Linked DNA regions of Homo sapiens: all the other regions are linked to region 4. Evidence: promoter capture Hi-C in human tissues and cell types (Jung and others, 2019). All regions are on one chromosome and are shown on one strand. Each heading gives the region's core, a stretch centred on a gene start or on the middle of the fragment in contact. The rest is flanking DNA. Distances are from core to core; before and after follow the strand shown. Region 1 overlaps MYO18B (myosin XVIIIB). Region 2 overlaps MYO18B (myosin XVIIIB). Region 3 overlaps MYO18B (myosin XVIIIB). Region 4 holds the start of SEZ6L (seizure related 6 homolog like). Region 5 overlaps MYO18B (myosin XVIIIB).

Region 1 (2,700 bases), core at 61-2,560, 260 kb before region 4:
CCTCTTGAAAACTGTGTTAACTCTTTAAGATACCACTGGGGGACCACTTAGTGCTCGGAAGCAAAAATGTATTACCATGGCCTCAGGGACCCAAAACTTAATGCAGCTGCCTGAATTTCCATGCTCAGTTCACCCAGGAGATGAGGCTGACTCAACACTTTCATCCGTCTTCAGCTTCACCCATAACCTCAGGCTGCATTGTGCCCTTGTAGACATCCAGTGGATATTTATTGATTATAATACAACACTTTTTCCAGGGAATTTTATGTTAACTCGTATAAGTTTGACATAAATGGTATTGCAGATGTCAAGAATGTCCAAGAGGCTAGAAAAAATGAAAAAGAAATATTATAGTTACTTGCTCAGGCTCCTTGGTTTTGGATTATCTTCCCACAACCCCTGTCATTTTAAAGGAAAAAAAGGCAAGAAGTTGACATTTAAAGTGAGCCTACTTTATGCCAGAAACTGTAACAGGGCCTCTGACGTACACTATCCTTTTGCTCCTCACCACGGCATAGCAGGGAATATTATCAACATTTTAAAAGACCCAGATTGTTTTTTTCTGTCCATGTTGGGGACAGCACTTGTTAAGTTCCAAAAGCTTGATGAGAGGTGCTGGGACAGTAGAGTAAATGATCAGAAAGTTATCATTTCTACAATGTAACCCATTGTATTAGTCTGTTTTCACACTGCTGTGAAGAACTGCCTGAGACTGGGTAATTTATGCAAAAAAGAGGTTTAATTGACTCACAGTTCCACATGGCTGGGGAGGCCTCAGGAAACTTACAGTCACGGTGGAAGGGGAAGCAGGCAAGTCTTACATGGTGGCTGGCAAGAGAGAGTGTGTGAAGCAGGAGCAGTCACGTATAAAACCATCATATCTTAAGAAAACTCATTCACTATCATGAGAAAAGCACAAGGGAAACCACCCCCTGTGATCCAATCACCTCCCACCAGGTCCTTCCCTTGACCTGTGGGAATTATGGGAATTAAAATTCAAAATGAGATTTGGGTGGGGACACAGAGCCTAACCATATCACCCATCTACGCTATTGAGTTCCAAATGCTTTTTCATGATCCAGTAACATTAAAGAGTATAGACAGATAAAGGAAAGCTTCAAAGCTTTCTTGGGCCCTGTACCCTGGGGATTCTAATCCAGTAGGTCTAGGGTGAAGCCCTGCAATTTGTATGTTTTAAAAATGCGTTTGTAATTCTAACGTGCCACAAAATTTGAGAAGCCAGGGCTTGGGCCAATCTGTAAATCATGCAGATCAGGAAAGTGAAGTCTTGAACTAGACCTAGAACTCATGACTTTTTTGCCTTCCACTCTAGAACCCTTTATACGACTTCACACAGTTCCAACATTATGCACGGCTCTATGCCTGTTGCATGTGTTTTGGAGGTTCTTGTTTGAAAGACCCAGCTCATTCATGGGATCACAGCTCTTAATTATGTCAGGTTGCCAGGGAGGGAGGGGATAGTCTTTTCTGTTTTCGAAATAATGGGGAAAGAGAAAGTAATATTTATGTATCAGATACTGTGCTAGGTGCTTTATATCATCATTTAATTCTCATAGTAGCATTCTAAGACGGTTGTTTTCTACAGAGAAAGGGGACTGACCTAGAGGTAAAGTGAATTGTCTCAGATAACATTTTGGGCAAATCATCTTCTTTTCCAGGCTTTCATGTCTTCATACACTTTTGTCCTACCATTCATCTACCTATCCACTCACCCAGAAAACCATCGCTGTTGCCTGCTCCAGGAATGAGAAATATGTTTCATCTTAAGAGTGTTGAGAAGGGGGCCGGGCCCGGTGGCTCACACCTATAATCCCAGCACTTTGGGAGGCTGAGGCGGGTGGATCACCTGAGGTCAGGAGTTTGAGATCATCTTGATCAACATGGAGAAACTCCGTTTCTACTAAAATACAAAAATTAGCCAGGTGTGGTGGCACATGCCTGTAATCCCAGCTACTTGGGAGGCTGAGCAGGAGAATCGCTTAAAGCCAGGAGGTGGAGGTTGTGGTGAGCCGAGATTGCGCCGTGGCACTCCAGCCTAGGCAACAAGAGGGAAACTCCATCTCAAAAAAAAAAAAAAAAAGAGTGTTGAGAAGGATTCTGAGGCTGCTTCTAAACTCAGTGGGAAAGTGTGATTGATGAGTGATGTCTGTTATAAGCACAAGAATGGATAGAGGCAATATTTAATCTATTTACCCACCATTTGTGATCTTCCAGGATGCCTAGGGCAATAACTTGACTCTCATTTATGTATTCCAAAAATGAGAAATGCAATTGGAATGCCAAGGATGACATGGAGGGCTTGGAGAGTTAGAGTGGGTCACCCTCACGTGCTGTCCTTGCTGCCCCCGCAGCTCCGCCAGCGGTTTGAGCTGGAGATCGAGCGGATGAAGCAGATGCACCAGAAGGACCGTGAGGACCAGGAGGAGGAACTGGAGGATGTCCGTCAGTCCTGCCAGAAGCGGGTACGTGAGCAGTGAACACAGCTGTGCCCTTGGATCCTGGCAGGTCTGGCATGGATTCCCTCTTCCTTAGAGCGAGGAGTAGGACAGGGTCTGGGATCTGGGGACAAGCTCTTTCTGCAATCATCTGAGACCTTAGCTTCGAAGTGACTTCAAAGGTGTAGGAGCGGAAATGCCCATCTTAAATATGATCTTGGAACTTCCAGAAGCCTCTGGAACT
Region 2 (2,700 bases), core at 198-2,697, 310 kb before region 4:
CAGCTATGGCTCTTCATTATTTCTGGAGTCTCTCTGCCTGTCTGGCATATACAGCCAAATGTGAGATGTCAGCCCATATGCTTTTCGGGTACACTCTTCTTGAACATTGGAGAGAAAGCTCTTTGCAAAATTCTAGGAAACAATGGAACTCTGTAAGTGGGGGCTGTGGGTTGGATGTGACTGAAATCAGTTAGACCCCAAAATCTGGGCTCAATTTGACACAGGCTATCGGAATTTTCCTACTTAAGGTGGAGAGATCTCAGGTTTGCCAAGAGCCATGTTTGCTGAGGTGTAATGTTGACTTACAGTGAAGACGATGACCCATCTATGCTCAATGCCTGGGATGCTTCACTGAATGAATCTTACTAGTTGTGAATTCGAAGTGGGATAGCTTAACAGGTTAAGGATACAGATTCTGGAGTCAGGCTTTCTGAGCACATACTGTGTCTAATCTGCTCACTGGCTGTGTGACATTTGACAAGTCACTCAGCCTTTCTTTGACTTAGTTTTATTATCTTAAAATGGCATACTAATAGTTTCTAATACTGTTGATAGGAGGATTGAGCAATTTAACGTATTGACATGGTGACTTTCATATACACAGAGTAAATAATAAATGTAATCAATTATGATTTTGTTGTAAAAATAGTAATTTTACTATTTCTATGGATTTTAATGCCCCTTCTATACAATGAAGGCTTTAATATTTGCCTTAAAAACCTCAAATAATTGTTAAGATAAAATATTTTTTGATTAATAGTAGTAGATATTTAATCAACTGATCATCTCTAAACTACATTTGGATAGTTTTTGATTTTCTGACTATTATGAAAAAGGATGTTGTGAACATTTGCATATCAGTCTTTGCACAGAAACATGTTTCTACTTTTTTTGGGTGCATTCTTGGAGGAGAATTGCTAGTTTATATGGTAAATTTATGTGTAACTTTTAAATATAACTTTTAAAGAAACTGTCAAGTTATTTTTCAAAGTGGCTCTACCATTGTTCATCCTCACTGGCAATGTGTGAGGGTTTCATTTTCTATCCTTATCAATACTTGGAATTGTTTGCCTTTTTGATTCAAGCCATTCTGTTGTGTGCAAAGCGGCATCTCATTGTGGTTTTAATTTGCATTTTCCCTAATGATGTTGACTTTTTTTTTTGCATGTGCCTAGTAGCCATTTTATCTCTTTTTTTGTGAAACTCTATTTTTTTTGCCCATTTTAATTAGGCTGTTTATCTTATAGAGTTGTACTAGTTCTTTATTTGTTCTAGACATAATTATTTATCAGATGTATCTTTGAAAATATTTTCTTCCAGCCTGTGGCTTGTCTTTTCATTTTCATAATGATGCACAGAGATTTTTATGAAGTTCAGTTTACTAATTTTTTAAGTGACTGGTGCTTTTTTCATATCTAAGAACGCTTTACCTACCCCTCGGTTACAGAGATATTCTCCCATTTTCCGCTACAAGATTTGTAGTTTTAGCTCCTCCGTGTAGACATTTGATCTATTGTGTGTTAATTTTGTGTATGGTGTAACATACATGCCTATATTCATCTTTCTGCATATGGATATTCAATTGTCCCAGTACCATTTGTTGGAAAGACTATTATCATTTCTCCCAGCGAATTGTGTTGGAACCTTTGTCAAACATTTATTGGCCATAAATAAAGAGTTTATTTTCGTAATCTAAATTCATTCTATTGGTCTGACTGTACTAATTAGTAGCATCTCTTTCTTTCTGCCTCTTTATTCCTTGGTCAGTGTAAATAAACTTCATCAGTTTTGTCTTTTCAAAGGACAAACTTTTGATTTCACTGATTTTTTTTCTCTGTTGTTTTTCTGTTTTCTTTGGTTCTATTGTCTTCTATTGATTTCCACTCTATGTTACTTCCTTCCTTTCACTTGATTTGAGTTTTCTCTACTTTTCCTGGTTTCTTAAAAAGGAATCTTGCTCAAATTATTGGTTCAAAATCCTTCTCCTCTTCCAATATACATGGTTAAAGCATACATTTTCCTCAAAGTACTACTTTGGCTGCATCACACAAAAATTTTCATTTAGTTCAAGATATTTTCTAATTCCTAGTGTGATTTCTTCTTTGGCCCGTTGTTTATTAAGAAGTGTATTAATTTCTACATATTTGGAACTTTCTCACCTTTTTTCTTGTTGGTTTCTAATTTAATTCCATTTTAGTTTGAGAACATATGTTATATGATTTCAGTACTTTTAAATTTATTTTTGTTTGTTTTATTGAGACTTATTTTGTGGCCTAATATTATATATCTAGGAGAGTGTTCAAAGTGTGCTTATAAAAAACATGTATTCTGTGGTTGTTGAGTAGTCTATAGATGTTAGTTGGGGCAATTTGGTTGATAGTATTGTTCAAGTCTTATATATCATTGCTATTTTTTTTTTTTTTGAGACAGGGCAGGCTCTTGCTCTGTTGCCCTGGCTGGAGTGCAGTGGCACGATTATGGCTCACTGCAGCCTTGACTTCCTGGGCTCAAGCGATCCTCCTATTTCAGCCCCCTGCGTTGCTCAGACTACAGGCATATGCCACCACACCTGGCTGATTTTGTTTTTTAGAGATAGGGTCTTACTGTGTTGCCTAGTCTGGTCTCGACCTCCTGGGCTCCAGCAATCCTCTGGCCTCAGTGTCCCAAAGTCCTGGGATAACAGGCGTGAGCCACTGTGCC
Region 3 (2,700 bases), core at 95-2,594, 400 kb before region 4:
CGCCTAGGAAAAATCCAGGCAGAAATAACAACAGTAGTAGCAGCAGCTACTGTTGTTGAGGACACACTATGCGCTGGGCTCAGTTTCTACATATTGTCACACATTCTCACACCTACCCTGCAAGGTAGGCTTTTATCATTCTCATTTTATTGATTAAAAAACAGACTCAGAGAGGAGAAGTCATTTAGCTAAGGTCACACAGCTATAGAGTGTCAGAGTCAGGAGTTGAACTTGGTTCTGTTGGGCTCCAAAGTCCACTCCTTCCACTCCATCACTCAACTTTGAGGGGCTAGGCCAAGGTCAAGGGTGCTAGGCTTGGCCATGCCTGTTGGATTTGGAGGTGCTCGAGCATCTGTGGAAGGATGAATGGAGAAGTGAACAATGAAATGAATGAACGAACACGAGTGAATGACAAAGCTGTCAGGTCAGCAAGCAGCTATGTAGGCATGGTTGTGTTCTTTCTCCCAGATCCCAGAAATTTCCATCAGCCAACCCAACAGCAAGTCCAGCAGTGGCACCAGATCTGGAAGCCAGCAGATCTCTCAGGACGACCAGTCAAGCTCTCCTGGGAGCTCAGACATTCTGGGCAAGGAGAGCGAGGGGTCCCGCAGCCCCGACCCTGAGCAGATGACAAGCATCAATGGTGAGAAGGCCCAGGAGCTGGGCTCCAGTGCGACACCAACCAAAAAGACTGTCCCCTTCAAGAGGGGCGTGAGGAGGGGTGATGTGTTGTTGATGGTGGCCAAGCTGGACCCGGACTCAGCCAAGCCAGAGAAGACTCATCCCCATGACGCCCCCCCTTGCAAGACCTCTCCCCCCGCCACAGATACTGGAAAGGAAAAGAAAGGGGAGACCTCTAGGACTCCTTGTGGCTCCCAGGCCAGCACCGAGATCTTGGCCCCGAAAGCTGAGAAGACCCGGACTGGGGGTCTTGGGGACCCAGGCCAAGGAACTGTGGCACTGAAAAAAGGCGAGGAGGGTCAAAGCATAGTGGGGAAGGGGCTTGGGACCCCCAAGACCACAGAGCTGAAAGAGGCTGAGCCCCAGGGCAAAGACAGGCAGGGGACCAGGCCCCAAGCCCAAGGGCCCGGCGAGGGGGTGCGACCAGGGAAAGCAGAGAAGGAGGGAGCAGAGCCCACAAACACGGTGGAAAAGGGGAATGTCTCTAAGGACGTAGGGAGTGAAGGGAAGCACGTAAGGCCCCAAATCCCTGGGAGAAAGTGGGGAGGTTTCCTGGGAAGAAGGAGTAAGTGGGACGGTCCCCAGAATAAGAAGGACAAAGAAGGGGTGCTCTTAAGTAAGGCAGAGAAGACAGGTGAGCCTCAGACCCAGATGGAGAAGACAAGCCAAGTGCAGGGCGAGTTGGGGGACGATCTGAGAATGGGGGAGAAAGCAGGTGAGCTTCGGAGCACGACTGGGAAGGCAGGTGAGTCCTGGGATAAGAAGGAAAAGATGGGGCAACCCCAGGGTAAGTCCGGGAACGCAGGTGAAGCTCGGAGTCAGACAGAGAAGGGCTGTGAAGCCCCAAAGGAGGTGAGCACAATGGTGGAGTCGCCAGCAGCTCCTGGGAAGGGAGGCTGGCCAGGAAGCCGTGGGCAGGAAGCAGAGGAGCCCTGCTCAAGAGCAGGTGATGGGGCTGGTGCCCTGGAGACAGAGCTGGAAGGACCCAGCCAGCCTGCTCTGGAGAAGGATGCAGAAAGGCCTCGGATACGGAAGGAGAACCAAGACGGGCCAGCCCCGCAGGAGGAGGGCAAAGGAGGCCAGAGCAGAGACTCAGACCAGGTGAGGGGGCTGCGGCCCTGGGAGCGGGAAGCGGCAGACAGGCCTCTCCAGAGATGCAGGGATGGGAAAGATCTGCCCCAGGGATGGACAAGGGGTGGACGGGGGGTGGGCAGGGAATTGGAGAGGGGTGGCTGGAACTGCAAGGCACCCAGAGGAGGGGACGAGCACTTCCTCCATGAGCAGAAGTCTTGAAGTTTCCATTGCACCTGCCCTGGGGTGGGAATTCCCCACAGAGTGAGGGAAGGTCCCCAAAGTGTGAGGTGTCTCCTCACGGCTGACATGGTAGAGCTTGCTTATGATGTCACACGACAGCTTTCAAACGGGATGGCATAACGAGTAGATTGTTAAAAATGCAGATTCCTGGGGCCAGCCATGGAGTCTCTCATTTCAAAGGCCAGGAGTGGGGCCCAGGAATCTGCATTTATGTAGTATTTTTTTTTTTTTTGAGACGGAGTCTTGCTCTGTCACCCAGGCTAGATGGTGCAGTGGTGTGATCTCGGCTCCACCTCCCGGGTCCGCAACGGGAATCTGCATTTAAATAAGCACACTCCCTCTCCTGTTCTCCCCCAGGAGATTCTGGTTTAGATGGCTCCAGAGCACACTGTGAGAAACCCCCGTGTAAGGTAGAAGATGGGCAGCGGTGCCATTTGCTGGTTTAATTTACGTGATGTTGGTTCTCAGGCTCCTGAGGACAGATGGTATGAGGCAGAGAAAGTCTGGCTGGCTCAGAAGGATGGATTTACTCTTGGTAAGTAGGGGTGTTAGCACCTTTGGAGGGTCTGAGTCTTCTCCTGTGCCCCCTACTGCTGCCAGCCATATGTTCCAGGTCCTGATTATACTTTGGTGGTCAGGAGGGAAGAGGAGCAGTGGAGACTGTCTTTCAAAGGCATTTGTGTCTTGATAATGAGTTATTTACCT
Region 4 (2,700 bases), core at 53-2,552:
TCTCTGTCCCCCAAAGCCTGAGGCAGGTCTGGGCCTATAGTCAGTGGCCTGTAAAAGAGCATTGTTTGAGTGAGTAAATGGGGAAGCTCTGGGTGTGGAGCGTCTTCTGAAACCCTGGGCCAGAGTGCTTCTCCTTCCCTCCTCCATCCAGTGTTCACCTCCCCCACCCATTCTTTCTAGGGACTCCCGGCTCCACCACGCTGCTAAAGACATATTCCTCCCCCTGTTGCTGCCTGCAACCTTCTCTCCATCTGCTCCCTCTGCCTGTTCAGGCTGCAGTGTGTAGATAGTATGGCAAGGTAGGGTAGGGGGAGGAGGACAGCTTCTAAATTGGGTGAGAGGCCTGTAAAGCCTGACCGGTCTGCCAAGGCTACGCAGGGAGAGACAGTCAGTCTCCAGGACTGTGCATAAGCTTGTCCCCACCTAGCTCTCTGCCAATGTCTGTCCCCAAGTATCTGTTTATCTCCCTCATTGATTGTCCCTCACTACCTCTATTTGTGGAGAAAAGACTTTGCTTGAGAATCAGGCCTGGGCAAGAATGCTGCAGAGGTGGGCCTTGTAGTCCTGCTCAGATAGGGAAGCGGGTACAGGAAGAGGCAAGCGGCTGACCTGAGAGGAAGCCTCGCAGCGCTAGTGCCCTGCCGGCAGTGGGGTTATGGGAGACAGGGCTCAGATTAAAAAGTGGAGGTGGATCTTAATTTAGAGTTCGTGATTGGGCTTCAGAGGGGTCCAGACCCCCTCGTGTTAGATGCACGATTTTGTGGCTATGTGTAGTGTTCTAGTAGATTCACAGCTGTCACCAGATCCACAGAGTTACAGACTTTCTAGGTTATGGGGACTCACTTTGGAAGCAGTGAGGCCCTGGCGGGGAAGCAGGCTGGCTGGATCCCAGAGGGCTCTGGAAAGAACTGGAACTGGGATGTATCTGGAAGGCTGGGCAGGCAATGGAAAGCTCCGGGCTGCTCATAAGCTCGGTTTCCAGGGCTCCATCTCACCGTCTGGAAAATGGTCCGGGTGCTCTCCAGCCTGGCCTGGCCAGGCAGAGCTGCTGGGAGCGTCAGCAGGGAGAGAAAACGCTCGGCTCCCAGGACGCAAGGGGAATTGGCGTTAAACTTTGCAGGGCCGACGGGCCGGCGGCCAGAGGAGGCGGCTGGCACCCCCGGCGCCGCCGCGGCCCCTCCAGCTCACTGCCCGCTCGCCCGCCCCCTCCCTCCCTGCACTCGCTCGGCACAGACTCGGCCCCAGCCCCCTCCCTCCTCCCGCTCGCTCCACGCTCGTTCGCTCGCTCGCCGGCTCCTCCTCACTCGCCCGCCCGCGCCCGGCGCAGCTCGGCCAGAGCGACCGCGGGGCTGAGCGCGCGTCCGCCCAGGGGGCTCCGGAAGCTGCCCCGGCCCGCGGCCTCCTCCCTCGCTCCCGCTTCCCCTTTCTCGCTCACCGCCGCCCTCCTTCCCCAGCTCCCTCGCCGTCCGCCCGCCCCACAGCCAGCGGCTCCGCGCCCCCTGCAGCCACGATGCCCGCGGCCCGGCCGCCCGCCGCGGGACTCCGCGGGATCTCGCTGTTCCTCGCTCTGCTCCTGGGGAGCCCGGCGGCAGCGCTGGAGCGAGGTAAGCGCCCCGAGGGGCGGGGCGGGCAGGGGGCAAAGTTGCCGGGAGAGCGGGGCAGCCAGGGGTCGGGGCTGACCAGGGCGACTCAGGCACCACCCGCCGGGATGGGAAGCGGTGGTGGCTGTCCAAAATCGGGGCTAGGAACCGCACGTCCCCTTGGCCCGGGCTGATGGGAGTGTGGAGGCGGGGATGTGTTGAAGGACTCGGGCGCTTCCCTGCTTCGGCTGCGGGCTCCCTTTCGGTCTTCCCCGGCTGCGGGGCTGATTCTCCTTTGCAGCCAAAGAGGTTCTCCTTGGAGTGGGGTCGCCTCCAAACCCCAAATTCCCGGCGCTTCTCTGCAACCGCACCCGGGGCTAGGTGCCAGATAATTATCTTCCTCTCCGGGAGAGGACAGGAAGGGGGGTGAGAAGCTGACCCACCCTGCAACTGAGGACTAGACTCAAACAGTGCATTTGCCGCTCCCCCCGACACCACAGAAACCCTTGACTCCTTTGGTTCAGGCTACCCCGAGGGTCTGTGTTCCTGGATCGATCTCAGCCAAGCGTCAGGATACCGGACTTGGGTGTGGCTTTCGCTAGAGGCCGGTGGAGGGGGCTGAGGGCTCTGAGAACTTGGTAGGGGAGGGAGAAGAGATGTTAGTTAGCAGTTGGGAACCTGAACGGGCTCCCCTCTACTCTCTCCCCTACTGCCTAGCATCTCTGATCACTGTTAGGAATGGGGGGTGAGGGGTGTTAGTTTCATCTACCACGTGTTTGTTGAAGGGGAAGAGGGGCCCAAATTTAGCAGAGAATGACAGCTCCTCTTTCTCAGACCTGGAACCATACCCTCTCTCCACCCCGGTAAGGTACCCCAGGAAAAGTTATGGGTGGGGGAGAGGGCCAGATAGAGAGAGGGGTGCAACGCCTAACTCACCCAAAGCTAACCCTCAGAGCTTCGGGGGTTTTCTCAGGCACCTAGGAGACCCGAAAATCAATGGGAGGGTTAGTTGGCCACAGGACCCGGCCTTCTTGCAAGGTCCCAGAAATGCGCTCCTCACGTGTAAAAAAGCAGACAGCTGCAGGGTCTGCCCAGGCTGAAGACAGAGGGAGCGCAGGCA
Region 5 (2,700 bases), core at 111-2,610, 280 kb before region 4:
ATCAGGCAGCCCAAGCTGGGCTACCTCTGCTACTTACCAGCTATGATCCTAAGCAAATCACTCCCTCTCTCAACTCCCCAGTTTCCTGTTCTGTAAAAGGGGAATAACAAAAATGCCCTTCTCATAAGGTATTTGAAGGGCTTAAGGCAAATGACATATGCCAAATGCTTAGGGCATACCTATCCTCAGCATTTCAAGAGTGTGAGCTGTTTCTCACCCAAGGGGTTATAATGAACAGATCTTTCTGTGCAAATTGCAAAGTATGGGAGGAGAGCAAAAAGTTGCTGTTTCCTGCTGTCTGCAGGTCAGATGGTTTTTGGGCTTGACAGTCTATGAATATAAGAGCTGAGGACAGGATCAAGCCAAGACCCGTGTGTGCCCCTGTGGTTTGTTTGTCTCTCTGACTGGCCAGTGGGGTCCTTCAGAACAGGACCTGGCACACAGTAAGTGCTCACATAGTGCTTGTTGGATCCGTGAAGAACAAGCAACAGTGACGGTCCCAAGGACCCCAGGTGTGTCCTCCAGCATTTAACATCCGTGAAATCCCAGTTACTCACTGCTCGCCCAAGCTGCAAATGAGGCCAGTGCACAGGATATTTTTTTTTCTGTTCCACTCCATACAAAATATACAACAAATTTATTAATTCCTGTCCCCTTCTCTCTGGCAGGCCCTTGGAGTAATTGTCCCTCAATAGAAAGAATATTTCTGTTGGTTTGGCCAAGTGGTAGATCCGGAGAGGTTTTCAAGATAATTTCTGGTTAATTGGTTCTTGAGTAATCTGCAAGGACTCTTCTGGGTTTGCAAACCAGACTCCCCCCTTCATTAAATTGGTTTTCAATTTGCAATCGCCTGACAGCTCTGAGCATGGTGCCTGCTCCTCACCTCCATCCAAAGCCCCTGTGCCCCATGGTGTGGGAAGGGATAGGGATTTATGGGGACAGGGGAAGGTCAGGGGCACCTTGTCTCTGAGAAAAACATGTGTCATTTCCCCCAATTTGAAAAGACTAATTGTCCTTTGGGCTCCAGACTTTGGGTTCTGTGAAACTCAAAATTAATGCATCAAATTAATTGTGTGGTCCCCTTGCTCAGGCCGGTTAGCATAAATTAAATTTCACACTAATTGGCTAAGGTGGAGAGAACACAGTCCTGGTGCTTGGAATTAATGCTAATTTCAAGGATGGTGTTTGGGGTGTGACCTGGGGCATTCCTGGCTTGCACCTCCCTGTATTGTGTGGCCAGTGCAAATCAGCACTCTTGCAGCAAGAATGATTTTGCACAGCCTTAAGCAAATCTAACCCCTTCAAATCCAAGTGTGAGGCCAAAATTAGGAGGAGACCCTGGCAGTTTCTATGGCAGTAATTCCTAAATTTTTTTGTTCATAAAAATCACCCTGGAGCAGGTTGAAATGTAGATTCCTGAATTATGCTTTAGAGATCCTGGTTTGGGGGTCTGAGAGTCCTATAATTTGCATTTTCTTTTATTTTTTTAAGAGTCAGGGTCTCACTCTGTCACTCAGGCTGGAGTGCAGTGGTGTGATCATAGCTGCTGCAGCCTAAACCCCTGGGATCAAGTGATCCTCCTGCCTCAGCTTCCAGAGCAGCTGGGACTATAGGCACACACCATCTCGGCTGGTTTATTTTTAAAAACTTTTTAAAGCCAGGGTCTTGCTATGTTGCCCAGGCTGGTCTTGAACTCCTGGCCTCAAGTGATCCTCCTACCTCAGCCTGTCAAAGCACTGGGATTACAAACATGAGCTATCATGCTCTGCCCTAGAATTTGCATTTTAACAACCATCTGAGGTCATTGCCACATAAGTACTTCCCTGGTGCACGGTGTAAGGAACAGCAAGAGAAAGCTCCCATGCTGGAGACAACCAGGAACACCCTAGGAGAGTCCCTCATTAATTAACTGGAGGTCCTGACTTGGACCTGACTGGTCTGAGTTCAAATCTCAGTTCTGCCTTTTACATGTGATGTGACTTTGCAGTGCTTCCCCCAAGCCTTCTTTCTCCTCTGCGTCTATTGAAATGTGCATTTTGGTCTCAGCAGTCGGTGATGCGGTCAACAGGGTGGGAGGCAGATGGGCTGGAGAAGTGAAACAGATGGGGAGCATGGAATGCACAGAGCAGCCTCAGATTTTGTTCACTCTTTTTGAAAGATGTTTTGTTTTCTGATTACAAAATCAGTTAAAAAATCAACAGTACAGAAATGCATCACAAGAAAATTGGAGTTCCCTGTGAGCCCATCCTTCCAGGAAAAAAAAAAAAATCTCAATTAACAGTTTGGGAGTGCTTTGTTCTGTGCAAACAAAAATGGGATTACACCAAACATTCTATTCTGGAAATTTGCCTTTTTTTCCCCTTTGGCAATATATCTTGGGGATATATTTTTTTTATGTCAGAACATAGATCTGCGTCTTCCTTCTTCATGGGACAGCTGAATAAATTTTGAGCCTGCCTAAGCTGACAGTACCGAGAGAGGCTAGCTCGGGAAGGGCAGCTACGTTGCTCATTGTAAGAACCATTTACCTTCTCAGTAAAGATAATGCAGAGTCGCCTCTAAATATCAGTCATGATGCAGAGGGTCCGATGAAAGAGTGAGGCATTCTAACATCTTCACATGCAAAATTTACAGCAGGAGGACATGTGACCGCACCCAATTCAATGCATTTTACAGCTCAGGTGACCAAGGCTCCAGAGC

What was found. Contacts are between HindIII fragments. The study calls those that stand out against the background at their distance.
Region 1: a contact is called between a fragment that was not itself captured here and the fragment with the promoter of SEZ6L in region 4, in 2 of the 25 tissues and cell types used here (H1 embryonic stem cells and mesendoderm cells).
Region 2: a fragment that was not itself captured here is called in contact with the fragment with the promoter of SEZ6L in region 4 in 2 of the 25 tissues and cell types used here (dorsolateral prefrontal cortex and mesendoderm cells).
Region 3: a fragment that was not itself captured here is called in contact with the fragment with the promoter of SEZ6L in region 4 in 2 of the 25 tissues and cell types used here (H1 embryonic stem cells and mesendoderm cells).
Region 5: a fragment that was not itself captured here is called in contact with the fragment with the promoter of SEZ6L in region 4 in 2 of the 25 tissues and cell types used here (H1 embryonic stem cells and lymphoblastoid cells).

Annotation. Positions count from the first base shown.
Region 1 is chr22:25,905,950-25,908,649 of GRCh38, forward strand. MYO18B (myosin XVIIIB) reads left to right here. Exons shown (of 44, transcript NM_032608.7): 32 at 2,373-2,483. Among named protein-coding and RNA genes, the nearest start is that of MYO18B-AS1, 7.4 kb to the left of the region's middle. The HindIII fragment of the contact is 3,771 bases long and covers 1-2,700 here.
Region 2 is chr22:25,858,479-25,861,178 of GRCh38, forward strand. All of the region lies in intron 21 of MYO18B (myosin XVIIIB), which reads left to right. Among named protein-coding and RNA genes, the nearest start is that of MYO18B-AS1, 40 kb to the right of the region's middle. The HindIII fragment of the contact is 7,727 bases long and covers 1-2,700 here.
Region 3 is chr22:25,767,647-25,770,346 of GRCh38, forward strand. MYO18B (myosin XVIIIB) reads left to right here. Exons shown (of 44, transcript NM_032608.7): 4 at 469-1,782; 5 at 2,464-2,530. Among named protein-coding and RNA genes, the nearest start is that of MYO18B, 27 kb to the left of the region's middle. The HindIII fragment of the contact is 4,498 bases long and covers 1-2,700 here.
Region 4 is chr22:26,168,160-26,170,859 of GRCh38, forward strand. SEZ6L (seizure related 6 homolog like) reads left to right here and starts at 1,303. Exons shown (of 17, transcript NM_021115.5): 1 at 1,303-1,604. The coding sequence starts at 1,511. It overlaps LOC105372971 (a long non-coding RNA gene), which reads right to left and starts at 1,075. Exons shown (of 6, transcript NR_188586.1): 1 at 844-1,075. RefSeq lists a silencer at 1,326-1,455 and an enhancer at 2,282-2,700. The HindIII fragment of the contact is 7,592 bases long and covers 1-2,700 here.
Region 5 is chr22:25,886,792-25,889,491 of GRCh38, forward strand. The region is part of intron 25 of MYO18B (myosin XVIIIB); the gene reads left to right. All of the region lies in intron 2 of MYO18B-AS1 (MYO18B antisense RNA 1), which reads right to left. Among named protein-coding and RNA genes, the nearest start is that of MYO18B-AS1, 12 kb to the right of the region's middle. The HindIII fragment of the contact is 5,114 bases long and covers 1-2,700 here.